2 separate regions of the Homo sapiens genome follow, and region 2 is linked to region 1. The links are contacts of gene promoters, found by promoter capture Hi-C in blood cells and fetal thymus (Javierre and others, 2016). All regions are on one chromosome and are shown on one strand. The core of a region is centred on a gene start or on the middle of the fragment in contact, and the rest is flanking DNA. Distances in the headings are between cores, read along the strand shown.

Region 1 (4,284 bases), core at 145-2,644:
ATATCTGGAAAAAAAAAAGCCACCAAGCACTGTATGTGTCAATTTCTCACCTTTTTTTAAAAAAAAAAAGAGTGGGCTGCTACAGTGGATATGTTCTACATCTCTTTGGGGCAGTGATTACATACAATTGTCATAACTCGATGGAACTGTCTACAGGATCTGTGTATTTTCTTTTAAGTAATTTATAACTCAACTTTTTTTATGGGAAGCTGTAGTTAACACTGGATAGTTAATACTTGGCTGATAAGAAACCGACTTGTTACAGAGAAAATGAGTCCCTTCCATCTTGGGCACAAAACGGCTCCACAAGACCAGCCTAGCTCTCTGGGCAGGCAGGTAACACTGGCAGGCAGAGGCATGCTCCTTGAATCTCACTGAGGGGGACAAGTGTTAGTGCGAGGCAGGTAGGAGCAAGGCCGCACACGCAGACTCTGTCATCTGGGCAGCTGCCCAATCCCCGTTTTTCATTTGTAACAAAAATAGTGTCCACCTCTTAATAATGTTCTGAGGATTAAGGGCGTTAAGTCGGATGTTTGTTGAAAGCACTTAGGCATAGTAGGAAGTACTAAGTAAATATGTCTTACCACTATTTATTATAAAAGATGAACAGGCTGGCCCGGCGTGGTAGCTCACGCCTGTAATCCCAGCACTTTGGGAGGCCGAGGCGGGCGGATCACGAGGTCAGGAGATCAAGACCTTCCTGGCTAACACAATGAAACCCGGTCTCTACTAAAAATACAAAAAATTAGCCGGGCGTGGTGGCGGACGCCTATAGTCCCAGCTACTCGGGAGGCCGAGGCAGGAGGATGGCGTGAACCCGGGAGGCGGGGCTTGCAGTGAGCCGAGATCGCGCCACTGCACTCCAGCCTGGGCGACAGACCGAGACTTCGTCTCAAAAAAAAAAAAAAAAAAAATGAACAGGCTACTACTACTACTACTACACACACACACACACACACACACACACACACAGAGCCACTGCCTAAAAATCTGGCAATCCTTCCTGACATTTATTACTGAATAACGAACGGTTACCAAACCTGTCTCCCAAATCACAAGACTCTTCCAGATTAAAATGTCTCTCGCCCACTTGGATCCACTCGCCTGTCTAGGACACAAACCCGTGAGGCACCAGCCCCCGTGACAGAGGCAGATTCCAGCTTCGCCTCACGCCACCTCACGCCTCGCGCCAGCCTTCCCACCACTGCCCGCGCAGCCCGCGCGGCGTCACGTGACCTCTAGTTCCGCACCGCCCCCCCCACCCCCCGGCCTAGCTGCCGGATCCCCGCCCCGGCTCGTCCGCGGTGTCACATGACACCTGGACCAGCCGCTGGCCAATCCCCTCCCTCCCGGGTTGCGAGGCATCACGTGGACGCTACTCGCTATCCCCGGCCTGTTGGCTTCTTCCGCGCTGGAGTATCCAGATAGGCGACACGCCGGCGGGCGGCTGAGGCGGGAATGGCTGCTGTACTGCAGCGCGTCGAGCGGCTGTCCAATCGAGTCGTGCGTGTGTTGGGCTGTAACCCGGGTCCCATGACCCTCCAAGGCACCAACACCTACCTAGTGGGGACCGGCCCCAGGTAAACGTCCCTCTCCAACCTCCCCAACGTTCGCAGCCGGCCCCGGAGCCCGGGCTTTGACTGATCGCGGCTGCGCGGGCAGTGGAGAGCGCCGCGTCCTGTCCCTAGCTGGGCAGCCCCGCGCCTAGCAGCCCCGTCGGGACTGCACGCAGACACTCGGATCTCGAAGCTAGCTAAAATACGACCACCCCAGGTGATAGCTCTCTAATTTAGGGAGAAATGGAAAAAAAAAAAAAAAAAAAAAAAAAAACTTCTGTTTTGAAACCCGATTTACTGTTCTTGATGTTTGAATGCCAGGGTGTGCGTGTTTAAACTGTTGAGAAAATTCGGATGTCAAGAGTCCAAGAAAGCGTTTACTTTGCTCACTTGACTTTCACTGGTGTTTTGCCCAGAGTGTAACTTCCCTTCTCAAAAGCGATTAATTATGTTGAGGCGATTTCCTCAACTCAGCAGCAGAGGGCAGGATTCTCCTGGCTTCCAAATTGGTTCTCTGCAGCCTGTGGGCTCATAAGAGGAGCTGACATAAGTAATTTGGGGAAGTTTTTTGTTACAATTGTGTGTGACCTTGTTTGAGTTTAATTTGCAGACACAGTAACACACCTGTATTTCTAAGAAGATACTTTTGCTCTTGTTTAGCTGCATTCTGTTTTAGTGGAATTATGCAGGAATGGGAGATTTGGTTTACTGCATAGTAAGTCTTAGGCATTTAGCAACTTTTGTAGTCTTTACTGGATGAACCCAGATAATGTAGTTTCTCTTGAGCATAGAATTTAATTGTGCAGTCAAGACATAAATTATTTTTAAAATATAATTGATTACTAAAAACGATTTAGTAAGTACAGTTAATTGAGTTTTCCTTGGAAGTGTCTACTGTTTGGCGTTTTTCCAGTAAATAAGAATTTTAGAAGCAGCAGACCTGCAAAGTGGGCAGGTAAAAGATTAAGTTCAGAGTAAATAAGGCAGGGTCAGGTAGTTACCAAAGGTTTAGGCTGCCACCAGAATCTAGGAGGATAGAGAATTAAGCAGGAAAAATGCCAGATCTCTAGGGTACAGTCTGTCTTGGCTGGAAGTCCCTCAACCAAGTAAATCCATAGGCGGTCTCTCTACAGTGTGTCATCTTGAACTAGTCAATACCTCAGACAAAAGATGCATATTATCAGAATTACCCTGGAAAGTCTCTTAGAAGAACACCATGTTGGAGATCAGTGTATTGTCTCAGTAAGTTCAGCACAACCTGCCTTTTTTCCAGCGTTGAAACAGATGGCTGATTCTGTTTGAAAACCAGGTGAAGAAATTGGCTTGTGTTGAGGGGCTATATTGTATGAAAAATACATACTGTATCTTTAAACACTATAATCACACTCAACATAGCAAAGTGCTAGTGCTAAGAGAGACTTAAAGACTAACTGAGGGAAAAGCAGATTTATAGTCTCTCGTCTTAAATTACTTAACACTGTTGCTCACATAAATTAATGGAGTGGAATGGCCAGTGGAATTACTTGCACTATGTAAATTATTTCTCCATATAGTTGAACTAGAGAGTCCGTATAGTTGAGCTAGAAATAAGTGTAGATAATGCTACTGTATAAAGTAAAAGGTGTAAAGTAAAAGGTGGCTAGAAGTTAATATTAATTGGCCCCTTGTCAGATGTTCTGAGATTGGTATCCACCTGTTCCGCTTCACAAAACAGTTCTAAGATCACAAGCGGCTTTTGTATCACTAACCCCAATGGTATTTTTCTGTTCTCATCTTCCTTGAACTTCAGTGCTTTGACACCATTGACGACTCCCTCCTTAATTTGCCAACACCACATTCTTCAGGTTTCCTATTACCTCTTGAGCTGCTCTTTCTCTTTCACCTTGATAGAGTCATCTTCTTTATCAAATCTTTAATTATTTTAGTTATTCAGTATATAATCCTCATCTCTCATGTTCTTCTACTGTATTCTCTACCTAGGTGATCTCATCTACTTATTTGGCTTTGCCTTTATTATCTGTTTATTATTAACTACCAAATATATAGCTCAAGTTCAAATTCCAAACTTGATCTTCAGACTCAAGTAGCCAACTTTTAAATCTATTTGCATGACTCACTGCTGCCTGGAACTCAGTGTTTTCCATACTGAACTCATAACCTTTCCAGAAAACTGCCAGGTCCTCCTTCAGTTGTTCATATCTTGATAAACAAAGCCATCAAAGGAAATGCCTAAATACCCTTCCTGACATTTATTTGCTTCCTACTGCATATCCAAGCCATTATGAAGATCTGTTCATGTCCCCTGCTGTCACTCAGTCCAAGCCAGCACAACTCTTGCTTAGGCTACTGTAATAGCCTCCTAATTGGCTTCTGTACGACTACCTCTGTCTCTCTTCAATCCAATCTTCCCTTTGTAGCCTGAGTGGTATTTTAGGAATTAAAACTGGAAGGCCTTGTGTATTCTGGCCTCCATCAGTCTTATCAGGCTCCTCTCAAACCTCTCCCACTCCAGCCATGCTGGCCTTCTAGTGTCTCAGATGAGGTTTGTGATTCCCTGTCTCAGGGCCTTCACGCATGCTTTCCTCTTTCTTCCACTCATTCCTCCCTTCTTTACCCAGCTAATCTCATTCATCCTTTAGAGCACAGTTTAAATACCATTTCCTCATGGAAGTCTTCCCTGACCCATCAGACTGTATTAGGGACACTCCATACTTTTCATGGTCCTTAT
Region 2 (4,169 bases), core at 1,578-4,077, 2.3 Mb before region 1:
AACACTCACACTACAGCTAGAAAACAGTTAGATAAACTCCAAAATCACATTGCTAAAGACATGGGATAGCCATGGAAGCAATGAAAATGAGATGAACTAAAATTCCAGAGAGAATCCCTTCTGAGGTGAGCTGCCGATTTGCTGATTTTGGATAAGGCTGAGGATCCAGTGCACTCCAGCCAGAGAGACTTTACTGGAGAAAGACAAATAAGAACAGCTTCTGGTGGTTTCCTTGGGGCTGGCACGTCGACTGGAAACTAGAGAAACTGCAAACATGATTGGCTTTTCTCCACAGGACATGTGCTGAGTTCCACGGCAATGCAATAGGCTGCAGTGGAAAGGCACATTAAGTCTCCCAGAGTTTTGGGAGGCCTAGGCGGGAGGATCACTTAAGGCAAGGAGTTCAAGACCAGCCTGGACAACATGAGACCTCGTCTCTACAAAAAATTAAAAAATTAACTGGGCCTGATGGTGCACCTGTAGTCCTAGCTACTCAGGAGGCTGAGGCAGGAGGATCACTTGAGCTCAAGAGTTTGAGTCTGCAATAAACTATGATGGCACCACTGCATTCCAGCCTGGGCCAGAGAGACACCCTGGCTAAAAAAAAAAAAAAAAGCTTAAAGTTCCATAAGAGGAGGATGACAAGCATTTCCCCTTTAAGATATCTGCTGTATTTCAGAGCTACGTGGGGGTCTACAGCCACATCACCCCAAACATGTCCAATCTTGTCAAACCTATGTGGGGTAGGAGACTAAACCCAATATGGTAGCTACTAGCCATACATGATTACTGCACAGCTACTAGCCATACATGATTACTGCACAGCTAAAATATGGCTAGTTTGAATTGAGATGCACCTTAAGTATAAAGTACACATGAGATTTCAAAGACTTACTCCAAAAAAAGGTAAAATATCTCATTTGATTTTTTTTAAGAGATGGGGGCCTTGCTGTGCTGCCCAGGTTGGGGTGCAGTGGTGTGATCATAGCTCACTGCAGCCTTAAACTCGTGGGCTCAAGTGATCCACCCACCTCAGCCTCCCAGAGCTGGGATTACAGGTGTGAGCCATGTGCCTGGCCTTACTAACATTTTTTACACTGACTACTTGTTGACATAGTGTTTGAGAAATATTGAGTTAAATAAGATTATCAAAATTAATTCCACCTATTTTAATTATCATTATTATTTTTTAGCTACACCTGCTGGAATGGGAATTTCTAAATTTCATGACAGGATTTCATTCTGTCACTCAGGCTGAAGTGAAGTGGCACAATCACAGCTAACCACAGCCTCAACCTCCTGGGCTCAAACGATCCTACCTCAGTCTCCAGAGGACCACACGTGGTTAACTTTTTATTTTTATTTTTTTTTGTATTTTTAGTAGAGACGGGGTTTCACCACGTTAGCAAGGATGGTCTTTATTGCCTGGCCTCGTGATCCGCTCACCTCGGCCTCCCAAAGTGCTGGGATTACAGGCGTGAATCACCACGCCCAGCCAATTTTTTAAATTTTTTGTAGAGACAGGGTCTCGCTATGTTGCCTAGGCTGGTGTCAAATTCTTAGGCTCAAGCGATCCTCCTGTCTAGGCCTCCCAAAGTACTGGGATTACAGGTGTGAGTCACTATGCCTGGCCTACTTTTCTTAACATAGCTATTAGAAAATTTTAAATTAGACATGTGGCTCACATATCTCTATTAGGCAGTGCCACTATAGAGCAAAATTAAAAAAAAAAAAAAAAAAGCAAAAGGGTTATGTATAGCCAAAAATCCAATACATAAAATTTTAAATGCTGCCTCAGTTTAGTGCATTATGGTGAAATACATTGATTCTTGACAGCTGACCCTGGCCTATTATATCTAGGATATATCCAAAAGAGTATCCTGGTAAATTCCAAGATTAAACCATGAGATCACACATAAAATCTGGATTCCCCCCTGCCTTTTTTGGAGAAAAGGTTATCCAGGAAGCAACTAAGATGTGCTGAACAACTGCTATGTGTAAAGCACTGCCAGGCACTTTAGAATACTTTTCCACCTTAATGTAGAAAACAACCCTGTTAACAACAGTGTCAACTTATAGTCTGCATGGTCTGGAATTCTGCTCCAGCCTGCTACTTCTCCAGCAACTGGCCCAGGCCTACCTATGGCTCTGTCTCTTTCACAACTATTCTGCCTCTATCTAGTTCTATCCATTTATGGTCCTGGCACCAACTCCAGACCTACCCTCACCCCCCAAACAAAGCAGACTACATCAGCCAGAGATACTTTAGTGAAGGCCTTGACAGTGGTGCTAATACACTGGGATTTTATGTAAGACAACACTTCAATAAGCAAGCAGTTTTATGTAAGTACTGCCCACTACTCAGGATTGTTGGAAAAGTATTTTGTAAATTATAAAAACCAATCTAAATACAAAATTATTTCCATCAAATAGCCTTTTAAAATGACCATGTTGTAAATACCAGCCATTACTGATAAACTGAATCAGCCTTGCCCATTACAATCTAAAATGGAACTACAGAGACAAGGGAGAGAGATTACAGCTATAAACTGTACTTCTTACGTAAGCGCTGGCATCAAGTTCAAATAAAAGGTTTCAAATATAATAGTTGCCAGTAAAAACAGAGTGTGTATGATTGGAGTCACCACAAAGTTAGCAAATAGAGTCAATGAAACACACTTCCCCAAGAGTAGCATCAGAATCACCTGGGAATTTATTAGAAATGTATATTTCAGAGCCCCATACCCATCCTACTGAATCTGAAACTCATGAGAGTTAGGGAGACTCAGCACTATGTTTTTTTTTTTTTAATAAGCCCTTTAAGTAATTCTGGAGCAGGCTAAAGTTTGAGAACCAATGTTCTAAGATGACAGGGACTACATTTCTTTTACTTGCTTTAGATATGACTGTATGTGTACACACACACACACACCACCCCCCCACACCCCTATGCACCAGACACTTGTAGGCAAACTTCCCCCAAAAACGTCTGTTTCTTCCCATTGTCTTACATTAGAAACAGATTGAAATATTTCCAATATAAAATAAAAAAACATATTTACCAAGGGTTTTTCCTGCTGCAATTCTTGTCAAAAACTGACATATGTATATCGTTCTCAACTGGCAAGCTGTTAGACTGGATAGTCCATGAATAATAGCTAAAAAAGAAAAAAAGTAAATTTTATTAAAATCAAACTTGATCCAGTAGTGCCACTGTGTGGTTTGTTGAGTAATAGGCTACAAACATATTGTAAAAATTATCATAAATTTAGAGTTGTACATTTAAGATCTGATTAAAATTCAGAACAAAAAAAAAGAATAGCAATGAAGACATTTCTTACAAAATATAACTTTCACATGTAGAATAAAAATTGTTGAAAATTCTTTCACAAGTAGCAGTCTACATTAACAAAAAAGATTTAGATACAAATTGTAAAATGTGTAAAATCATTGGTTGGAAACTTATACCTAGAAACATTTCATATAATAGAAAATATTTTATATTATTTCTATCTAGGTTTCAGTTAAGTGAGTCTGTTTAGCTTACAAAGTTTAAAACCTATTAATATTAACCTCCCCAAACTTGAATGCCCACCCAGATGTTGAGTCAGGCAGTGATTACATACAATACCAAGTAAGCCATACTCCTGGACCACAGTGAGCTTTTTACCATGTAGCAATGAGACAAGCGATTGAACTACTGAAGTAAAAATGTTGTGAAAACTTTAAAAAGACAAGTACAGAATGCTTTGGAAGCATATAACAAGAAATCTGTGTGTTTAAGTATCTTCTGCACAGAGGAGGTGTCAGGGAAGGCTTCTCTGAGGAAATAATGTCTAACCTAAGACCTGAAGGTGCCACTACTACCATTATACCTAACCCAGGGCTTGGTTGGTGTATATATAAAAAACTTAAATAACTAGCAAACTGAAAAGCAATTCTGTAGCAATTAAGCATATAAGACGAATATATTTTTACCCAATTTCCTCCCTCAATTCTAACATAATCTTATGCTACACCAGAGATTATCTGGACCATACACAGTCATAATAGAATTTAACAGGATTTTAAGAGAGCACAAAATTTATATAGAATTTAAACACAAGCCATTCAATATTTACTGAACATCTACTGCCAGCCTGTGTTAGGAGGTGATGACTTCAGATAGC

Evidence for each region. Contacts are between HindIII fragments. The CHiCAGO score rates a contact against its expected background, and 5 or more counts as called.
Region 2: a contact is called between a fragment that was not itself captured here and the fragment with the promoter of LACTB2 in region 1, in 1 of 17 cell types (naive CD8 T cells). The highest score is 5.0, in naive CD8 T cells.

Annotation. Positions count from the first base shown.
Region 1 is chr8:70,666,295-70,670,578 of GRCh38, reverse strand. It overlaps LACTB2 (lactamase beta 2), which reads left to right and starts at 1,394. Exons shown (of 7, transcript NM_016027.3): 1 at 1,394-1,580. The coding sequence starts at 1,459. XKR9 (XK related 9) reads right to left here and starts at 1,240. Exons shown (of 5, transcript NM_001011720.2): 1 at 1,041-1,240. The HindIII fragment of the contact is 8,354 bases long and covers 1-4,284 here.
Region 2 is chr8:73,012,884-73,017,052 of GRCh38, reverse strand. TERF1 (telomeric repeat binding factor 1) reads right to left here. Exons shown (of 10, transcript NM_017489.3): 2 at 3,063-3,158. Among named protein-coding and RNA genes, the nearest start is that of TERF1, 6.1 kb to the right of the region's middle. The HindIII fragment of the contact is 4,417 bases long and covers 619-4,169 here.